6 separate regions of the Homo sapiens genome follow, and regions 2, 3, 4, 5 and 6 are each linked to region 1. The links are contacts of gene promoters, found by promoter capture Hi-C in blood cells and fetal thymus (Javierre and others, 2016). All regions are on one chromosome and are shown on one strand. Each heading gives the region's core, a stretch centred on a gene start or on the middle of the fragment in contact. The rest is flanking DNA. Distances are from core to core; before and after follow the strand shown. Region 1 holds the start of RTF2 (replication termination factor 2). Region 2 holds the start of LOC105372688 (a long non-coding RNA gene). Region 3 has its middle 25 kb from the start of RBM38-AS1. Region 4 overlaps RBM38 (RNA binding motif protein 38). Region 5 overlaps RAE1 (ribonucleic acid export 1). Region 6 overlaps SPO11 (SPO11 initiator of meiotic double strand breaks).

What was found. The method cuts DNA at HindIII sites, captures the fragments that hold promoters and counts their contacts. A CHiCAGO score of 5 or more calls a contact.
Region 2: a fragment that was not itself captured here is called in contact with the fragment with the promoter of RTF2 in region 1 in 1 of 17 cell types (neutrophils); the score reaches 5.9 in neutrophils.
Region 3: a contact is called between a fragment that was not itself captured here and the fragment with the promoter of RTF2 in region 1, in 1 of 17 cell types (naive CD8 T cells). The highest score is 5.8, in naive CD8 T cells.
Region 4: a contact is called between a fragment that was not itself captured here and the fragment with the promoter of RTF2 in region 1, in 2 of 17 cell types (neutrophils and naive CD8 T cells). The highest score is 5.8, in neutrophils.
Region 5: a contact is called between a fragment that was not itself captured here and the fragment with the promoter of RTF2 in region 1, in 5 of 17 cell types (naive CD8 T cells, M2 macrophages, total CD4 T cells and 2 more). The highest score is 8.7, in naive CD8 T cells.
Region 6: a fragment that was not itself captured here is called in contact with the fragment with the promoter of RTF2 in region 1 in 2 of 17 cell types (naive CD8 T cells and naive CD4 T cells); the score reaches 5.8 in naive CD8 T cells.

The regions. Positions count from the first base shown.
Region 1 is chr20:56,466,988-56,470,466 of GRCh38, forward strand. It overlaps RTF2 (replication termination factor 2), which reads left to right and starts at 1,640. Exons shown (of 9, transcript NM_016407.5): 1 at 1,640-1,779. The coding sequence starts at 1,711. The HindIII fragment of the contact is 9,363 bases long and covers 651-3,479 here.
Region 2 is chr20:57,458,006-57,461,484 of GRCh38, forward strand. LOC105372688 (a long non-coding RNA gene) reads left to right here and starts at 2,255. Exons shown (of 3, transcript XR_936911.3): 1 at 2,255-2,695. RefSeq lists an enhancer at 3,108-3,402. The HindIII fragment of the contact is 5,537 bases long and covers 1-3,479 here.
Region 3 is chr20:57,416,239-57,419,717 of GRCh38, forward strand. No RefSeq gene overlaps it. Among named protein-coding and RNA genes, the nearest start is that of RBM38-AS1, 25 kb to the left of the region's middle. The HindIII fragment of the contact is 2,248 bases long and covers 827-3,074 here.
Region 4 is chr20:57,398,705-57,402,183 of GRCh38, forward strand. All of the region lies in intron 3 of RBM38 (RNA binding motif protein 38), which reads left to right. Among named protein-coding and RNA genes, the nearest start is that of RBM38-AS1, 7.4 kb to the left of the region's middle. RefSeq lists enhancers at 1-220, 198-287, 1,262-2,125, 2,108-2,207. The HindIII fragment of the contact is 5,250 bases long and covers 1-3,479 here.
Region 5 is chr20:57,377,766-57,381,244 of GRCh38, forward strand. It overlaps RAE1 (ribonucleic acid export 1), which reads left to right. Exons shown (of 12, transcript NM_003610.4): 12 at 248-1,437. The coding sequence ends at 334. LOC124904938 (a long non-coding RNA gene) reads right to left here. Exons shown (of 2, transcript XR_007067671.1): 1 at 1-3,479. Among named protein-coding and RNA genes, the nearest start is that of RBM38, 12 kb to the right of the region's middle. The HindIII fragment of the contact is 373 bases long and covers 1,690-2,062 here.
Region 6 is chr20:57,337,949-57,341,427 of GRCh38, forward strand. SPO11 (SPO11 initiator of meiotic double strand breaks) reads left to right here. Exons shown (of 13, transcript NM_012444.3): 9 at 328-427; 10 at 1,041-1,078; 11 at 2,154-2,230. Among named protein-coding and RNA genes, the nearest start is that of SPO11, 9.9 kb to the left of the region's middle. The HindIII fragment of the contact is 7,175 bases long and covers 1-3,479 here.

The DNA of each region.
Region 1 (3,479 bases), core at 390-2,889:
CTAAAAATACAAAAATTAGCCCAGCATGGTGGCGGGCGCCTGTAATCTCAGCGACTGGGGAGGCTGAAGCAGGAGAATCGCTTTGATCCTGGGAGGTTGAGGTTGCAGTGAGCCGAGATCACATCACTGCACTCCAGTCTGGGCAACAGATCGAGACTCTGTCTAAAACAAAACAAAACAAAATGAAGTCCCTACCCTCATAGAGCTTACAGTTATTGTGGTTAGCATAGAAATAAATCATAAATCAATCAGAGACCAACTAATTAAAGGGATTATTTTTTAAAATTCTCATTAATCACAGTAACAAGTACCCCAAGCTTACATATAGCCCTTGAAGTTTCCACATCCACGTATTTTCTGGGCAACTCTTCCCAAGTAAAAAATATTTTCAGCGTTTTTATGTTTCACGTAGGTCAATAGGGTAATATCCAATCATAAAGATCTGCCTTCTTGGCAATGGAGAAATTTTCCCATCATATATATGTACAAATACATACATACATACATACATACATATTAATGACAGAGTCTTGCTCTGTTGCCTAGGCTGGAGTGCAGTGGCATAATCATAAGCTCACTGCAACCTTGAATTCCTGGGCTCAGGCAATCCTTCCTACCCCCTCAGCCTCCGGAGCCGCTAGGACTACAAAAGCTTACCACAACGCCTGGCTAATTTTTCTTTTTCTTTCAAGATGGTGTCTCACCATGTTGTCCAGGCTGACCTGGAACTCCTGGGCTCAGGTGCTCCTCCCGTCTCGGCCTCCCAAAGTGCTGGGATTATAGGCACTTTCCCATAATATTTATAATAATTAAAGGAACAAACAGAGAGATAGACAATCGCCTAAGAGCAGACAGACAATCATGAATTTTTAGCAAGGGATTTGTGTTCTTATAGATAAAATACAGCCTGACTCTTGGAACGGGCATGGCAACATCAGTGTATATTTTATAAGAACTATTATATCGTCTATTAATGATACTTGATTGTTAATAAAATTTTTTTAGCCTGGGCTTCAGGAAACTGTGAATGAAATACACACACGCACAAACTGTATGCAAAATTTCACACACATGCCATCTACAATATGCATGGCAACACCAGAAAGTTCCAGGCCTTAAGGGAGGGTCTTACTTCCTAGAATCTGTTGTAACATCACTTCACAAGATTTGTTGTGAGTGCTTGAGTCACAGTTGGCGCTCAAGAAAGATGCGTTCTCCTTTTAAACACAAAAATGTCCATTGATACAGCAGATTCCGTTCATAGGCATCCTTAATCGCAGAAACAGGAGGGCGGCCCTTTTCCTCAAGGCGCTCTCAGTCCAGGGATGTGCCCGCTCCGCAGCCACACAAGCTGGCGTGGGATAGGGTCAAAGAGCGGTGGATGCGCACGGGCCGCCCACGCCCTCGCTGCCCTCCCGGAGCGTGGGCGAGTGATTCCGATTGTGCAGCAGAAACCCAGGGTCTCACGGGAACGAGGAAACCCGCCCACGCCCAGCCTCCAAGCGACGCTCTCCATGACAACCGGCACTTGGTAACGGCCTCGCCCTGCCCCGCTACGCCGCGCCTAGCGTGCCGCCCCGCCCCGCCCCGCTACGCCACGACCAGCGTGCTGCGTCACGGCGGTGCGCCGGAAGTGGCTGCGGATTTCGCCGGAAATCCCGGAAGTGACAGCTTTGGGGGTTTGCTGCTGGCTCTGACTCCCGTCCTGCGATGGGTTGCGACGGGGGAACAATCCCCAAGAGGCATGAACTGGTGAAGGGGCCGAAGAAGGTTGAGAAGGTCAGTGATGTGGGCCGGCTCTTGGCGACCGGGGGTGGTGGGAATTTGACGACCCCAGAAAACGAGAGGAAGTAAGAAGGGGGAGCCAGCGGAGTTCCAGACCTGGCTGCGGTCTTTTATTCCATTCAGAGGACTCAAAATTAACAACAGTATTAAGAGTGGACATTCAATGGGTGCTGACTATTGCCATTCACTGGACAGTAATCTTAACAGGGGGTATCTCATGTAATTATCACAATAGCCCTATAGCTACATACTGTTGTCCTCATTTTCAGACATGGAAGTTGAGGCTCAAAAGGAGAAATTTGCAAAGCTAGTAAATGGCAGAGCCAGGATTTGAACCCTACCTGCGACTAGTAGCAATAATACAAATACCTAGTGTATACTGAGTTTTGTATACACTAACTTCATTTGCTCAGAGAAGCCTTCCCAAACTGTTCCCTTACCACATCCTTTTATAAACTGTCTTAGCCTGCACACGGCTGTACGTGGTTGATTTGTATCAAGTCTTCCCCGCTAGACGGTAAGTTCCTGATAGCAGAGGCTGTACCCTTTTTTTCTCTGCAACTAGCATGGTTCCTGGCACACTAAATATTTCGAATAAACAAATGAGTGAATAATCCCTGATCTCACAAGTAATCGAGGAAATTATAATAATTTCTTTGCTACTGACGGGGACATTGAGTCCAGGGATATTAAGGTGACTAAGATCACACAGCTGGTAGGTAGTGAAGCCAGGATTCCCATCCACTTATTTGGGATTTCAAAGTTAGCACAAGTAATTACTTTTTAATGATAAAATATTTGTAAAGCACCTAGTAGAGACTTCTTTACAAAAATATTTGTAAAGCACACGTGGAGACTTCATGTATTCTGATTCAGGAGCTGGAGAGCTTGTTTAAAAGGTAAACCCCTTAAGTCACTATTGTATTTGAAGCATTCCAGTGGCTTCCCATCACATTAAGAATAAAATCTCGTCAGACCCTTGAGCAGACCTTGCCTATGTTTCTGACCTCATCTTCTGCCCCTCTCCACCTCTTTCATACTGTTCTAGCTAAACAGGCCTCTTGTTCTTCAACCTGGAGTGTGAGTTCATCAATCTGAAATACTCTTCACTGAGATTGTCACATGATGAGTTTCTTTACTTCATTCAGTTTTTTACTCAAATGTCATCTGTCCACTGTAACTGAAATGTGCCTCACTTCCAATATTCTCTCTTCTCTTCTTAACAGTGCCTACCACTGTGTTGTTTATTGTCTCTTTCCCACGTAGACAGGAACCTTGTGTGTCTTACCTCTGTAACCCCTACCATGTGTCAGCCACATAATAGACACCTAATAAGTATGTGTGAATATGGGAATGAATGAATACCCAAGAGGATGAAGTGTACCCTCTGATCATACGTACATGTAAACAGGCGAATGCTGGATAATTAGCATTCATGAGTGGTTTTTTGGCTTTCACCAAAAAAGTGTTTAGCTCAGTTTTGTTTTCTTGTGCCCAGGGCTGAAAAGGAGTAGCTTAATGAAAGGCTTGACAAGAAACAGGTGTCGGAAGAGGGTAGAAAAGAAGGAAGAGCGATTCAAAAAAGCCAGAATGCCTAGGCAGGATGGATTTTTATTATAACTATTCACACAACAAATGCTTAATAAGTGGTTACCATATATACATTGTTGTAGGCCCCAGGGATATAGCAGTGA
Region 2 (3,479 bases), core at 490-2,989, 990 kb after region 1:
AGTGCTCTTTCAGATCCCATTTTGCAAATGAGGAAACCGAGGCTAGCAAGCAGTCAGACTGGAATGGGAGCCCAGGAGGCCTGCCTGCAGGAGCCGAGAGCTCACCACTGCACCATGCATTTCATTCATTATCCTATGCTTAGTGTTTAGTGTTTATCCTACGTTTAGATGTTTAGTGGACCGTTCTGTCCTCTGACCCCAGCCGACAAGCTCTCCTAGGTTCTGGTGGTGAGAGTTACATTGGTTTCTATGATGTGTAACAAATTATCACAAACTTAGTGGCTTCAACAACACTCATTCATTATCTGTTTTAATGGGTCATGAGTCTGGCACGTTCTAGCTGGGTCCACTGCCCAGGGCCTGACAAGGCTGCAGTCAAGGTGGTGGCTGGGCTGCATTCTCATTTGGAGGCTCAACTGGGGAAAATCCACTTTCAAGCTCCCTCTGGTTGATGGCAGGATTCATTTCCCTGCAGCCATAGGACTGAGGTCCCTGTTGTCTGTCCAGCTGTTGGCTGGGACTGCTGTCGGTTTCTAGAGGCTACTCACAGGTCCTTATCACGTGATCCCTCCTGGGGCCCTTTCACACGTCCAATCTCTGACTTCAAGAAAGGCTCAGTTCCTTTTAAGAGCTCATCTGCTTAAGCCAGGCCCACCCAGAACCATCTCCCTTTTGAGGAACTGCAAGTCAACTAAGTAGTAATTTTCTCATGGCATGATACGCCACCATATCTACAGTCCTGCCCACATTTCAGGGAAGGGGGTTATACAGGGAGTCTACAGCAGGGGCTGGGATTCTGGGCCATCTTAGAATTCTGCCTCCCACAAGGGGATGGGGGCCTTTCTGTGCTGTGAAGGAAGACAAGGCTTCTCTCTGGAAGGATTCCCAGCCACAGTGCCTCAGAAAGAAAAGTTAGCAAGAGGCATGGGCCCCTTTCCAAAGCCTTCCCTCAGCCAGCTTTGGGAATTTCTCCAAGTCTTGGGCACTGTGTTTGGTAATCCAGTGTGGATTCAGCTCCTGTGTGGCTGTAACCTTTGCAAGAGAGGGAGATAGCACACTGCTAAGGGCTCTTTCTGTCTTGAGTGACACAAAACCAGACTCAACGGGTTTAAGAAAAACGATTTGTGTGTAACTGACATGGTCTGGGCGCTTCCTGCCTTCAGGCACAGATGGATCCAGGGGCTCAAATGCTGTCATCAGGACTTGATTTTTCTCCATCTCTTACTCTCCCACCTTTTTCAGTCAGCCCCTGGCAGCCCAGGGCTTACTTCCTCCCACCTCCCCTTCCAATAGAAAGTCAAATTCTTTCTTCCCAATAGTGGCGCAGAATTAACTCCTGTTGGACTGATGTGAGTCCTGTTCCCATCCCTAAGCCAATCACTGAGTCCTGCGGGATGAAATAATCTGATTGGCCAGGACTGAGTCACATGTCTACCTTGGGCTTTGAGAGTGGGGTTTTACCTCCCCAGACTACAGGAATTCAAGCTGTGGTGGTGGGGGGGGGGCCCTCTCAGAAAATCCTGAGTGCTGTTTCCAGAAAATGTGGCAATGCATACTGGGGGTGGGGGTGGCAGAAACAACAGTTGTCTTCCCCATCTGGCGAGAAAGTGGAGTGGTGTAAGCACCGCCCCATCCCACACCATCCAGGGGCCAGAAGCGACTGAGGGGACTATGAAGCCAGTGGGGCTGCGGGTGGAGGGTTGGGGGTCGGGGAGAGGGGAGGGGGAACTAGTAGCCGCTCCCTGAGATGGGTGAATAGAGGGAGGGGCAGCAGAAATGCAACGGTCTCAGGGGAAGAAGGAGACTTCCCAAGACTGGGAAGGGAAGGGGAGAGGAGGTGAGGGGGGTCTATGCCTGGGGAGACCGTTTCCCTAGGGCACTGTCGCCCAGCAGCACTGGCCTCCCCCAGTCTCAGGGACTCCAGGTGCTGCCAAGTTCTCCAGCCTCAGCTCAGCCAGAGGCTGCAGATCCACCCTGTCTAGGGGTCAGCAGCCTCTGACAATGAGCACTTAAAGGTAGACAGTGTGAACTGAAGACCAGCCAGCTCCTGGAATGTTCGTTCCACCTGGGGCAAGACCCTGAGTCTTTACATTACCTGGAGGCAGTGGGGCAGGACTGGCTGTGTGATTTGTAAGGCCCAGGGCAGAATGAAAACGGGGAGCCTCTGGTTCAGAACAATGGAGGACTTCCAGGCCGGGGCAGCAGAGCCTCACAGCAAGGCGGCACTCTGAGCTCAGGGCCTGTGGGGCTGCCCGGCACTTCCCTGTGGGAAATCAAGTTTCATTTGACTTAGAAAAACAGTTAAGTGATGCCTCCTGCCCTCACTGGGGTGTCCTTTTTACCCCGGGCACTTCTCCTGGGCTCCTGCGCTCCTGGCGCTGAGGTAAGAGGAGACACACGCAACCTTGCTGGCCTGGCCAGGAGGAGCCCACAGCCGTCATTTCAGACAGAGGAACCTGAGCCGGACGTGAACCTGGGTTCAGACACTGCCGTTGCTGTGGGTGAGCGGCTGTTCTGCCTGTGGAGCAGCATCGGGTGGGTGGTTGCCTGGCACCGTGACTGTTAGGAGAACTTCTGCATGGCCGGGGTGTACTTTATGGGGGGTGCGGCCCCCTGTAATCGCTCTGCAGTCTGGGCACCCTGTGATGGGGGCCTGGTCCTCATCTGCGGCTGCCTCGGCTGGCTCCGATGTGAGGTGAGGAGTTAACCCCTGCCCTAGGCTCCCTTGCTCCTCTTGCCACCCGCCTCCCCACCACTAGCCCCTGACTGCCTCCCTGCTGTCACCAGGGTCCCTTTGCTTTGTGCTGGGGGGACCTGCCACCTCCCCCTCCCCTATGTGCCCCATCTGAAGGCGTCCCGTGGGTCCCCAGGTGTAATCGTGCAGGAGCCTTCCCCAGCGCACATCCCTGAGTCTGCGGGCCAGGGCCTGTCCTCCTGGCCGCCATTGGCCAGAGGCGTCCCAGGGCTGTCCTGGGAATGTCTCTGGAACAGCAGGTCCTTCCAGTGCTGGGTTCCATCCTGCAGCGTGGTTAATGGGCATGTAGAAGGCACAATGTGCCCAGCTGCTGCCCAGGACAGAGTGGACATGGCCTGCCTGGGAGCTGATTCTCTTCTGGGAATGCGGGATGCAGAGAAGTACCATGGGGAACGGCGGACAGCATGCTGGCCGCAGGCCACTGACTAGCTTATCTCCTGTAGCTGCCTGGTGACAATTTGACTTTTCCCACAGTTCCTCCCACTGCCCTTCTTGACAATGGGGTGGGTCACTCTGACCTCTTGATTGACTTGCACTTTGACCAAAGGGGAACTCCGGGGGAGGCTGGAGGAGCCAGGCCTGGGATGAAGGCATCTGTTGAAAGCCGTCTCTGGGTTGCATTGTCTGAAAGCCAAGAGATGCCTGAACGAAGGTGGCTTTGTGGGCATGTGACTTGGGTGGTCATATAGACACCTGCACTCTGGAAGGACCCCACGTGCCAAAG
Region 3 (3,479 bases), core at 701-3,200, 950 kb after region 1:
CCATCCTTGTTCTCTCATTTGTTTTTCTTTCCAAGCAGCTGTCTCTGGGATAAGGGCCTGGCCTCAGAGCGTCCTAGGCATGAGTCTGGGCTGCCTCTTCTTCCTCCTCCCTGGGCCTGACAACCTCGCTCCTGGGAAATGGGCTGAGCCTGGGGTTCCTACCCTCCCACGCAGTGGCAGGACCGTGCTCCCCAGCAGCCAGCGTGCCCTGGGATGGCTCGCCCTGCGCAGGTGTGGACAGCCTCTGCCCAGCTTGCAAGCACAAGCCCTCCTGAACCACGGGAGAGCGGAACGTCACCAAAGGCTGCTTGGCTCCCACAGGCCTAGGTGGAGGTGTGGCCCATGAAGGCCACAGTCCTGAATCTCAAGCTGAGGTTTAGCAAAAGCCTGCAAGGTAACCGGGGGCGTGGGGAGCTGTAGTCCTCATCCTCAGGGTGGGCAGGGCAGAGAAGCCTGAACTTATCCAGCACTGGGCTTGTGCCAGGCCCTGTGCCCACCACTCAGCAGCATGGGCTCATCAAATCCACACAACAACCCACTTTATAGATGCAGACACTGAGGCTCAGGCTAGTCAGGGAGTTTTCCCAGGGTCACACAGTGAGTAGCTGGCAGAGCTGGGCTCCAAACCCCGGGGGATCTGATGCCAAAGCTGCCCTCCTAACCTGCAGCTGGGGTCTCCATGGGAGGAGACAATGACCTGTATTCTGGTGTGGCCACAGGGAGAAAGGCCACAGAGCCACTAAGAATGATACTGTGGAAGTCTATTTCCCGACACGGAGAGATGGCCACAGAGTACGGTGGAAGGAAAAAAGCCACCATGAACAGAAGCTTCTCACAATGCTGGGCCCAGAGTTCCTCACAGCAGCAGTGACACCCGTGCTCTCCAGTTTGCTCCAGTCCCCACCAATCTTTACTGTGCCTCTCATTGAACCCTGGCAGGCATTTTAACTTGTCGGTTAGGAGTCACAGGAGAGCCAAGTAGAGGAGGAAGCAGGAACCGTGTACACACGTGCTTTATCCCCCTTGACGTCTTTCTAGAGGACAGTTATGCAATTATGTGACAGATGGAGGGAGGGAGGGACTGAAGAAAGGGAAAAAGAATGGGTGGAGGAATGGATAGAGATGTATGGATGGAGGGTGAATGGGAGGATAGATGGATATATGCATGGAGAAATGGTTGGGGAATGGATGGAGGGAGGGAGGGTGAATGGGAGGATTGATGGACAGATGAATGGAGAAACGGATAGAGGGAAGGAGTGTGAATGGGAGGATTGATGGATACATGAATGGAGAAATGGATGGGGAATGGATGGAGGGAGGGAGGGTGATTGGGAGGATTGATGGAAGATGAAATGGAGGGAGGGAGGGAGTGATGGATAAAGGAAGGGATGGATGGGGGGATGAATGGAAAGATAGAGATATCTTCAACCTTGGTCCCTACTCCAGCAGAGTTAGCTTTGCCTCAGGGGATGGTCTGGTACAAGGGTTAATCATTCAAGTGTTTGGAATCAGACCTGAATGTGAATCTGAGTTTCTTTCCTGACAAGCTGTGTGACCTTAGGTAAGTCACTCACCTTCTCTGATCTTCAGTTTCCTCATTATTAGAAAGGAAATAATAATACTAGATAATAATAATAATAGAATAATAATCCACATTCTATGGATTTGCCTATTCTGGACATTTCTTAAGAATGTCCATGCAATATGTGATCTTGGGGGTTTGGCTTCTTTTATTTTGCATCAGGTTTTCAAAGTTCATCCATGTTGTGGCATGTGCCAGCCCTTCTACTCCAGCAGAGTTAGCTTTGCCTCAGGGGATGATCTAGCACAAGGGTTAATAATTCAAGTGTTTGGAATCAGACCTGAATGTGAATCTGAGTTTCTTTCCTGACAAGCTGTGTGACCTTAGGTAAGTCACTCACCTTCTCTGATCCTCAGTTTCCTCATTAATAGAAAGGAAATAATAATACTTTGTAGTGCCTCCTAGAACACGAAGTAGAACAAGCACTTAGGGCCAGGTTTGAGGGAGAAGTTGAAGGTGGGCCCACCTTTATTAGGATCCGTGCTGCTGCTACGGTCCTATCAACCCTGCCCTGAGAAAGTGCCCTCTCTGCTTCCGGGCCCTTTGTGTTGAGCTGGTTAATCGCTCGGGAGACTCGATGGGTTCCCCACCTCCCCACCCCCAGCTCTGAGGATCTTGGGATCTCGCTGGACTGGTGTTAATACCAATAGCATCCCCTTGCTCACTGCCTCCAACCTCGACCGGACTCTCAGACCCCGCCCAAAGCCACAGCCGCATCTTCGTGACCATGACCTGAGAAGGCTCCTTGCAGCCCTGCCGCAGAGCAATCCTGTTATCAGGGCTTCCAGCCCTGGCTGCACCTGAGAACTGAGCTGCAGGAGCTGCTAAAAGCAATGCTGCCTGTGCCCCACCCGGAACCCAGTCTTTGGGAGAAGCGCCTGGCATGAGTATTTTTTTAAGCGCTTCTGACTGATACTAAGGCAAAGCCTGGCCTGAGAATAAAAGAAGCTCTGTGTTTAGTTTCTTTTCTTTTTAAAATGTTTCTATTTTTTCTTTACTTTTCTGTTTAGTTTCTTCGGCAGTGAAAACAGACTCTGCTGTCTGTAGTTGGATGAAGAATTCACGTTTGTTTTCCTTTCAGGGTTTTGATGGGTCAGTGTAAAATATGTTTTTTGTTAATCCCCTTGGGTTACAGCTGGTTAGAGTAGGGGGTTGGGAGCCCCTTCCTCTTACTTTACAGGGCTCCAAAATCCTCCGCAGAGTACAATGTGGGGCTGAATTTTATTATAAGGTAAACTGGTTTAAAAGAATAACACTAAACACAAATCAAAGGAAAGAGATGAGCTACCACTTCGCATTCACTAGGATGGGATGAAAAAGTCAGAGAAACTCAGGTGCTGGCGAGGATGTGGGGGAACTGGACCCCCACACACACTGCTGCTGGGAATGGAAAATAGAAAAAACAAGCTGGCAGGTTCTTCAAATGATTAAACAGAGAGAGCTACCATGTGACCCAGAGAGTCCACTCCTCAAAAAACCCAAGAGAAATAAAAGCTTCCACACCAAAACTTGGACACAAAGGTTCTTTTGTTTGTTTGTTTGTTTGTTTGTTTTATACTTTAAGTTCTAGGGTACGTGTGCACAATGTGCAGGTTTGTTACATATGTATACATGTGCCGTGTTGGTTTGCTGCACCCATTAACTTGTCATTTACATTAGGTATCTCTCCTAATGCTATCCCTCCCTCAGCACCCCAGCCCCCAACAGGTCCCGGTGTGTGTGATGTTCCCTGCCCTGTGTCCAAGCGTTCTTACTGTTTGGTTCCCACCTATGAGTGAGAACATGCGATGTTTGGTTTTCTGTCCTTGTGATAGTTTGCTCAGAATGATGGTCTCCAGCTTCATCCATGCCCCTGCAAAGGACATGAACTCATCCTTTTTTATGCCTGCATAGTATT
Region 4 (3,479 bases), core at 638-3,137, 930 kb after region 1:
AGCATGAGTTCTCACCCTGGCTCGCTGCTGGGCTTGGGGAGCCTCTTCTGGAAGCCTTGGGCCAAGGGGCACAGCTTTGTCTCAGGGTAGAAGCCTGATCACAGACTGAGTGGAGGCCCAAGCTCGAGCTTTCCTCGTTTAGCCTCAGTTTCACCTTGTGTCCAGGGTGGACAGGCTGATAACTCTGCAGTGTGCTTGCGGGCATCAGGACCTTCCTGCTGATCTCATTTGGATAGAGTAGGGAGCTGGACACTGGGTCAGCTTGTCTGACAGATCTTTGCTTGCTTTGTGCCAGGCTGGGGATGCCTGCCATGGGGGTGAGGGGAGACCCGGTCCCAGCTCCTAATCACAGTGCTTTCTGCAGCGAGGTGCTGAGAGGAGGACAGAGACAAAGGAGGTCAGCATGCCTCAGAAGGCGACAGGAGCTGGGGAGGGGAAGGGAGCAGCCGGGGAGGCTCAGGGCCCGACAGGGTAGCCTCAGCTCCTAGAGGACTTTGATGACCCAGGGAGGCACTGCTACATTCCTCCAAGTGACACCGGACCACGCAGGCTCCGAGCGGAGGAGGGATGGGTCAGTCTGCATTTTTGTTTTCAGAGTGTTTTTGCTTCTGGCTGCTGGGTTGAGCCTGGACTGCCGAGGGTATTGTGGTGGTTGGAGGCCCTTAGAGGATGCCCAGTAATCCAGGCATGAGACGAGGGTGCTGCCTGCACCAGCGGCCCTGGTGAGATACAGTGAGATTCTGGGTGTCTATTTTAAAGAACCTGGGAAAGAAAGAGGAGTCCAAGAAGATTCTGGAGCTTTGGGCCTTTGAAATGGGAGATGGGCTTGGCCCTGACTGGGGTGGAGGCAGCTGTGCAGTACAGTTTTGGGGAGAAGGTCAGGAGTTGGAGTTTGGGCCGGTTCAGGTGGAGATGCTGTTCCGGGCCTGGCATTGCCCCACAGAGAGGGCGTTCGACCTGTGTCCTGTGGCTGGCTGCCCCACAGAACTTGAATGTCCCTAGACCTCCCGGCCCTCCCCCTCACAAGTCACTGGGGATTCCCGGGAGGCAGGGCCATGGCCTGGCTTCCTGCCTGCCAGGCGCCTCGGGGACCTTCCCACACCCAGCCAGGCGGGAGTCAGAACCCTAAGAGCTGCGGTCCGTCTCTGCCGAGGTGGGGCAAGGCCCCTGGAGAGCAGGGAAAGTGAAATGGGCTCATTTGCCTTTTTCGTTTTTATTTTCAGAGGCGACTTTATGTTCAGAAAATGAGTCCTCCTGGGCCGTGGTCAGTTCTTTTCGCTGCGAGTTCTGCTTTGAGTGTGGGCAGCATGTGTCCCCAGCACCATCTGTACTTCTCTCTCCCGCCCACCACGGGGTTCTCAGACTCTGCCGGAGGCCCAAGCCCTCTGTCTTGGGGGCAATCTGTTGGACTCTGCAGCATCCTTAGTTTACAGATGGGGAAACAGAGGCCGGAGGGGCTGAGTGATGGTCCATGCGACTTGGACAGGCATGGCCAGGATCCGGGCTTGGGGCTCTTCCTGCCCTTGGACCCCTGAGTCTCTGTGGACAGAGTCAGCTGGGGTGCTCTTGACTGTGTGCTGACCCTGGGTGTGTTGGGGTGCAAATGCTGCCTGGGCCACGTGTGAACGGGAAGGGAGGCAGGCACCTCAGATTTCCAGTCTGGACCAGGCTCGGGGTCCCCCTGTCCTCTCCTGGGCTGTGGCAGAGCCAGCTCCTCCTGCATGCCCAACCCTCCCGGCATGGCCTGGCCTTTCCAGCCCTAATGGTGGCCCGTTTCAGTGGCTCCGTGATTTGGGGGTTTGGTGTTGCCCAGGCTCCGGCACTAGAGGGAAGCAGAGAACCCCTGAGTCATCCTTCCGCAGACACCCCGGACCCCAGCTAGGTGCCTGTGCCCAGTGTCCAGCGTTGCAGTGGGGCTTGGGTGGCATGTGGGGGGTCTGTCCCACCCATTCCTGTGGTTTCTTCCTTGGCTCTGCCTGGACTTTGCACACGTGGTGGGATTAATTCTCTGGTAAACAGATCCGCCTCTGATTGGTGCAAGACCCTTCTCTGGGGTCTTGGTGGGAGGATAGAAGTTTTCTGCAGAGGATGAGGAGGCACAGACGCCCGGTTGTTCTGAGGCCGGAACTTGGAAGGAAACTGGAAGGGAAGGAGGCTCCTGCCCTCTCCTTTGAGGTTACAGCTGGGCTGTGGCTCTGCAACCCTGGGGAGCGCGTGGGACTCCAGCAGCGGCCGTACAGAGGGCCGATTCCAAAGTGGCTTCTAGAGGAGGGAGCAAGTGCCGTGTGCCCAAAGAGGCCGGTGGGCCCTGGCCAAACAGGAGCAGCCCTGATGAGCATTGGGTCCCCCGACCTTTGGGCTCCTACCTGACTGCGCCTGGCCGCTGGTCTGTTTTGCTCACCAAGGGTTCTTGGCTGCTGCCCCCTGACCTGGGGCTGAAAGTCCTAGGAGAGGGAGGGCCTCTGTCCCTCCCAGCATTCCTCAGGCCCAAGGAGGCGTCGATGCTGCTGAAGTCTCTGGGGTGCACAGAAGCAATAGATCCTCACAGCAGCCCCCTGGGGCGTGTGGTTCCCCAGAGGCAGTGATGAGGTCACCCGGGGCCGCCAGGCACCTGGTCGGGGAGCAGAGGCTGGCGGGCTGTGCCTGTCTAGCTGTGACTTGCTGGGTGGAGCCGTGCCTGCCTGTCCCTCCAGCCTGCCCAGCCCTGGCTGCTCAAGGCTGAACTGCTTTCTCTGCCTTCTTGGGGCAGGGACTCTTGGCCTGGGAAGCAGAGGCCATTCCACGGGGGGGCTCTTTTGCCTCCCAGCTACCTGCAAAGCCGGGGCCTGCCTCAGATGCTCAGCACTGGGCACCTGCTGTGCTGGGGCACTTGGGACGCAGCAGCTGAGACCCTGCTCTTGTGGGGAAGACATTGTGCAAGGTAGATGATGAAGGGGCTTCCGATCATAAGGAAACAGAGCCGCCTGGGTGGACCCCTGAGGGGTGAGCTTTGAGCTGTGGGAAGAAGCAAGTGCATAGGTGCGAAGGTCCTGTGGTGGGAAGGAGTCGAATCTGGGAACAGAAGGAGCCCAGGGCAGTGGGAGTGTGGCCAGGGAGGGCGCAGTGCAAGTGGAGATGAGTTAGAAGAGGTAGGTTGAGGCCTAATAACGCAGGAAGCCACAAGGGAGCAGTTTGGGTTTTCTTCTGGGTACAGTGGGAGGCAGCTGGAGGGTTCTGCTTCTGGAGGTGATGGGGTGTTGATGTTTTCGTTTGTTTGTTTTTTGAAACGGAGTCTCGCTCTGTCTCCAGGCTGGAGTGCAGTATCTTGATCTCAGCTCACTGCAGCCTCCGCCTCCCGGGTTCAAGCCATTCTCCTGCCTCGGCCTCCTGAGTAGCTGGGATTACAGGCACGCACCACCACGCCCAGCTATTTTTGTATTTTTAGTAGAGATGGGGTTTCACCGTGTTGGCCAGGATGGTCTCAATCTCCTGACCTCATG
Region 5 (3,479 bases), core at 626-3,125, 910 kb after region 1:
TCACAGGTTCCTACTCACAGACTCTCTCAGTAGGACATTGATGACACACTGGTACCAACCACATCCTTAGGCCTTTCTCTGAGGACTGAAGTTCTGCTTCGCATTTGACTTTATCTTTGTTGTTTTATTTCTCTGAGAGATTATATGTTTCCAGTATTGTAGCACAGGACTTCACCTAGAAAAAGCACCTACAAATGCTAACTTTCTTTTGAATAATAAGATCATTGGTGTTTTTTGCTCTCTTTAGGGACATGAATTTTATAATCCCCAGAAAAAAAATTACATTTTCCTGCGTAATGCAGCCGAAGAGCTAAAGCCCAGGAATAAGAAGTAGTGGCTGGAGACTCTGGCTCAGCCAGAGTTGTTTCTCTCCACTCTGCCTCATCTCTGTACGAATTTGGGTCCCAGCCTTGTTGGGTTGTCAGCCATGGACATGGATTTCAACCCCTGGAGAAAACGATGTCATTGTTCAGCAGCTGAGAGCCCAGGCGTCCGCGGCGACTTGCCGTCTCTCCATTCCACTGCCTGTTGCAGAGTTTTTCTGTAACTAAGGGGGTTGAGGTTATTGTAGACGTTAGATTGCGGGCACCGCCAGGGATTTTGCAGCGCTTCAGTGTACGTGTTAGAGAATATTGGAAAAGCGTCTGTGAGCCCCGTGCTGTATTTTGTAATAAAGTCTTTTGCAGATTGCTTCCCGAGCTTCCTTTGTCCTTTTCTCCCCTTGCCCACCCCGTAACCTCAGGAACATGCGTCCTGCCCAGCATCAGCGTGGGGTTTTGAGTTGAGATTTCAGACACCCTCTGGGAAATGCGGCAACCTTAGGGGAAAGGGAGTCCCCAGCTGCGCTCACTTCTGCTGCGCGGAACGGCAGCCTCTGTGAGCCCTGGTGGGCAGAGTTTGAATGTGTTTTTCCTTGCTTCCCTCATTCCCATCTTCAAAATCCCCAGTGCTTTCTGGCCTTGCTGCTCAGATTTCCGAGTGACTCAAATGGGGACTGTTACTTGTGCTGGGTGACAGGCCATTTGTGGGTAACCTCCTAAGGCCCAAGTGGGTGACACTTGCGTGACTTTCAAGTTAGAACCCAAGCCCCCTGCATGGGAATTGCCCTGAACTCTTACCCACCCCGGTCCCCTGCATGGGAATTGCCCTGAACCCTCAGTAGTGGTTGTTTGGCTGTTCTTTTGTATTTTGTGTAATTTAAAATTCCTGGTTGGTAAGTATTCAAAATGAAATTCAGCTGGGCTGAGAAAAAGTGTGACTTTTGGGTCTGTCACTGTATTTCTCACCTGTGATCTCAAATGCTTCTTAGGCCTTTCTGTTTGGACTAATGTGTGAAGTCTGACTTGCTGAGTGTAAAATTCTAGTATCGATAGTGTTGTAAGATGTGTTTGCCTACTCATAAAAAACAATGAAAATAAAATTTTCTACTGGAAGAGACCACCTGCACTCAGTGGTTTAAATTCTTTGGTAGGTCACAATGAATTCAGACCCACCCACTCTCCAGCCCTGTTTTTTTAGCCCGAAAACTTATTTTTTAGAGATAAAAAAGCAGGTGCACTAGAAAAATATCTGAATTTTCAGGTTAACGGTTTCCAGCTCATTTTCCTCTTCACTTTATGAATCAAGCCTGTGGTCTTATCAACGTGGGGAAGATCTAGCTAGCATAAGACTGCTGTGAGGGGAGATTGAAGCTTGATTATCTCAGCAGCCAACTTTCATATTCAGCTTTAGCTTAGCCAGAGTTTCATTGTTTTTACCACCCCTAGTGACGGGCTAGGGTGGAAAATGAGTCTAAATTGCAGGCCTTTTAGAGTGCGCTTTCCCAGGATGGGACCTTGCCACCTCCCCAAGGGGATAGTTTTTGTAATTGGCAAATTTAAAACATTTGCATAAATCCAAGATTGGACTGGGCTGTCAGAACCTGGGAGGGAGCTCTGCTGCCACCAGGATGTGAACCCTAGATGAGGCCCAGGCTCATTTCTCTGCTGCCCAGGACCTAAAGCATAAAAGCACACTACATGTTTGCTAATGAGGATCTAGGAAGTATTCACTGAGATCGTTAAGCTTCTTCAAATATTTATGTTCATGTTTCCTAAAATGCATATGAAGTCTTAGAGGAACTCTTCATCTTAAACTTCAGCATCTTTGCAGGCACCTGTAAGTTGCATGCAGTAGGTGCTCATTAAGTATTCATAAGTTTGATGGCATCTTCTACTTCAAAGAGATACTAGTGTAATCTTGGCTCTTTGTTTCACTAAATGTCAAGCCGTCCTGCCATTAAATATTGACTGCACACCCTGTTAAGAGCTGCTTTCGTTGAAAGTAAAGTATATAAACCTCATGGAGAAGACAAATTGTGTTCTTTCACTTAATTTTTTCCAACATATGAAAATTTTAAAACATCCACAAAAGTGGAAAGGGTTTTGGCAGTGAACATACACCTGCCATCTGCCTGCCACCAGGATGCCACCATGAACACTCACCTTTCCCTTGATTTTCTGCTTGGTTTTGCCTGGCTTTCCTCCCAGTCTTTGTTGTAACATCGCTTCCTTGGTTCCTCACTGTGGGAACAGGGCCTCATGGGAAGAACTTTGTGTAAAGATGCTGCTGCAACAAGGTGGCAGGGATTTAGGGTGGGCACAGGAAGGTGCACTCGGTTCCTGTCATGTTTGGTTGGAAGCAGGATGGAGCTGTGGTGGGTTTGTGTGAGACACCTGTCTGTGAGCCTGTGCTCACGTGTGTGCACGTGTGCATGTGAGCCTGCCTGTGAAAACCCTCTCAGTCAAAGGGGCCAGCTGAACCCGCCTGCCTCACCCCGTTTTCGGGTTAGCTTCACACCAGAGATCCTCTGGCAGAGGAAGAACAAAGGATGCGGCAAGTGCCTGGCCTGCTGGCAGTGAGCTTGCTGACTTTCACCAGAAAATCACCACCAAGAGAAGGTAAACAGCAAGGGCCAGGCGTGGTGGCTCACGCCTGGAGTCTCAGCACTTTGGGAGGCCAAGGCGGGAGGATCACTTGAGGCCAGGAGTTCCAGACCAGCCTGGGCAACAAAGCAAGACCCTGTCTCAAAGAAATTTTATTGAGTCATGTAGGAAATGTTTGTTTTTCTCATTCAACCAAAATTTTCGTCTCTTTTGGAGGAGAGACTCTAAAACATGAACTAAACACATGTTCTTGAACACTCGGGAGTGCCTAAGCCAGCCTTTTCCGAATTCACTCATGACCCATTCGTAGGTTGTGAAATGAACGTAGTTGTTGCAGTGAGCGTTTCTTTTAGTGGAGCCACACAAAATCACAGAATCTATGTATGTATGAGATATTTTCATATCCTGGGGTGGGATTCTTCTCTGTGCCTGTCACTTTTTGTATGGTTTAGGATGAGTTCTTAGCTTCGGTGACCTCAAGTACTAAGCCATAACTGCACTTGAGGTCTCCCCAAAATGGGAGGGATGATTATATTAATTATATTTGAAATAACC
Region 6 (3,479 bases), core at 596-3,095, 870 kb after region 1:
GTGATTTCGGCTCATTGCAACTTCTGCCTCCTAGGTTCAAGTGATTCTCCTGCCTCAGCCTCCCGAGTACCTGGGATTACAGGCGTGTACCACCACACCTGGCTAATTTTGTATTTTTAGTAGAGACGGGGTTTCACCACGTTGGCCAGACTGGTCTCAAATTCCTGACCTCAGGTGATCGATCCCCCTACCTTGGCCTCCCAACGTGCTGGGATTACAGGCGTGAACCACTGCGTCCAGCCTAACTTTTAAATTATTAATAAGAGTATAATTGTAACCATTTTATTCTACTGAAGTTAAAATTCTTAATTTTCATCTTCCTTTTAGGGAAAGGGAGTTCCTGATCTAAACACAAGACTTTTAGTCAAGAAACTGTGGGATACATTTCATGTTCCTGTTTTCACTCTTGTAGATGCTGATCCACATGGTAATTTATCACTGGACTATTTACAACAATAGTCATAACTAAATCATATTTGTTGTTGTGTTTTCTTCCTCTTTTTTTTTTTTTCTTTTTGAGATTGAGTCCTGCTCTGTCACCCAGGAGTGCAATGGCGCGATCTTGGCTCACTGCAACCTCCACCTCCTGGGTTCAAGTGATTCTCCTGCCTCAGCCTCCTGAGTAGCTGGAACTATAGGCACATGCCACCATGCCTGGCTAATTTTTTATATTTTTAGTAGAGACGGGGTTTTACCATGTTGGCCAGGCTGGTCTCGAACTCCTGACCTCAGGTAATCTGCCCACCTCGGCATCCCAAAGTGCTGGGATTACAGGCAGGAACCACCGTGCCCAGCCTGTAGTTGTGTTTTCTACTCTCGGGACACTTATGAAACATTTTAAAAGAAAATGATTACATTAAAATTTGGTCTATAATTATTTGACACAATTTATCGTTACTTTGTCATATTAAACTGAGAATGATAAATTTTTCACTGGTGATGTCCACAAAATTAAAATTATAGATAGATAAAATTTGAGAGTGCAAATTAACCTGTAATATGTAAGGAGACTAATTTTATAGTTAACTTTCTTTTAACAGGCATAGAAATAATGTGCATCTATAAGTATGGATCTATGGTAAGTATAGAAAAGCAGTTTTCCTTTTTTATTATTTAGACATTTTATATTCATTGAGGTGATTTCTGCATTTATTAATCACCCCCAAGCAGGCTGAGAGTGCCCAAAGTGTACCTGAGGGCCTAGTATCCTATTCTAGGAGCAATCTGTGTGTCGGTGGCTGTGACTCCAGCTCCCAGTATGACCAGTGCAAACACAGATGACAGAGTGGGATTAGCTGTGGGCAAGCAGCATTATTATCCTGCACTCTCTTGGCATACTGAAGGAACTGTGGGGCTCTGGGGTGACAACAACGCTGTCTGATCACCAAATATACTCGAAATATTATATAGAGCCTTGAATTCTGACTTTTCTAATCCCTTTTCTCCCACCATAAGGAGAAATGGAAACAATAAATGTCACCACCAGTGTCTACAATTACCATATACCAGTGGTCTCACAGTGTGGTCCTAAGCCAGGAGCATCAGCATCATCTGGAAGATTCTTAGAAATGCAAATCTCAGTCCCCATCCAGAACTACTGAGCCAAAATCTCTAGGGGTGGGATCCTCCAAGCATTCTGATGCATGGTGAAATTTATAGCAGATGAAAAGGATGGTGGAGCAGGGTGTAAGATGGGGAATCATGAACAATAAGAAATGTAGGTCAGAGGGCTTCATTTATAGTTTGCTTTAGAAAATTAATACAGAAACACTATATAGAAGTTGTGGTTGTTGTTTTGTTGCTGTTTTGAGACAGGGTCTCACTCTGTCATCCAGGCTGGAGTGCGGTGGTGCAGTGACAGCTCACTGCAACCTTGGACTTTTGAGCTCAAGCCATCCTCCCGCCTTGGTCTCCCAAAGTACTGGGATTACAAGCATGAGCCACCGCACTTAACCCAGAGAAGTTTTAACACCTTCACTAAAAGCCCAGCTTAGCATAGCCCCTGATGGTTTTCTTACTTCTGTGGGCTCTGGGCATGTGAAGCCAGCTTTAGTACTTGTCCTTCTTAATAAGTGAAAAATTTGACTGAAAAACAAGAATGCTAGTTTTCTACAATTTAGCCTCACCTAATATACTTTTGTTCTTTATTTTAGTCTATGTCTTTTGAAGCTCATCATCTCACAGTTCCAGCTATTAGATGGCTTGGTCTTCTCCCTTCTGATCTTAAAAGGTTAGATAGTATAGCAGAACTAGGATATTTAAAATGACAGTTCATTATCATATGTAACAATAAGCCTAAAAAGTCACTACAAGGGAAAGCTCTTAATGTTTTTTATTTATATTGTCCACGATGACTTATGATTATGTAATTATGAATTAAATTCATTAATGTTTCTGTTTCAACTACTAAAATATTTAACACATGAATTTGGTTAATGTGTTACACTTTCAGCTAGCTAAAACTTTCTGTTTTACTTTTATGGTTAAGACATTTTATACACTTTTTATACTTAAAAGTACAATACATTGTAGGCCGGGCACATGGTGGCTGACGCCTGTAATCCCAGCACTTTGGGAGGCCAAGGTGGGCGGATCACTTGAGGCCAGGAGTTTGAGACCAGCCAGGGCAACGTGACAAAACCCTGTCTCTACTAAAAATGCAAACATTAGCTGGGTGTGGTGGTGGTGTATGCCTGTAATCCCAGCTACCGGGAAGGCTGAGGCCCAAGAATTGCTTGAACCTGGGAGACGGCAGTTGCAGTGAGCCACGATCGCACCACTGCACTCCAGCCTGGGTGACAGAGCTTGACTCTGTCTCCAAAAAAAAAAAAGTACAATATAGTAAATCCAATTAAATTGTAACCATTGACAACATCATTTGCCATATGAATCAATTTTTGTCATAGATTTAAATTTTTAACTTCAAAAGAAAAATATCATTTTAAGAGTATTAAAATTTGGGAACTTCAAGTTTGGCAAGTTTATTATATATGTTCATTATAGAAAAAAATATTAAGCAACAAGTTAAATATCACCTACAGATCAGCAGCCTTACCTTTGTAGATTTTTTTTCTGTGCATAGCCATAACTTTTTCACAAAACTGAGATCATACTCTGTTATTTTATAATCTGCTTTTTTTAAAACACAACAAAATAATGTGATCACTTTTCCATGTCAATAAAGTACATTTCTTATTTTAGCATCTTTTGTTGCTGAGTTTTAACTCTAGATGTGCTAGTGTTTATTCAGCCATTCCCTCATAGCCATTTAAGTGGTTTCCAAATCTCTATTCTGATAGGTCGTGCTTTGATGCAGTCTCTTGTAACTAAATCTCTATGCACATCCTTAGTTAGTCCCTTAGGCTGAATTCCCAGAAGAACTGGTGGGTCAAAGAGGATCCCCATAATCAGGGTTTGACTGTTGTCTGGATAGATTAAGTTTCTTGCTTTCTCTGAAGAGTAAGAGTCCACCTGTCCCT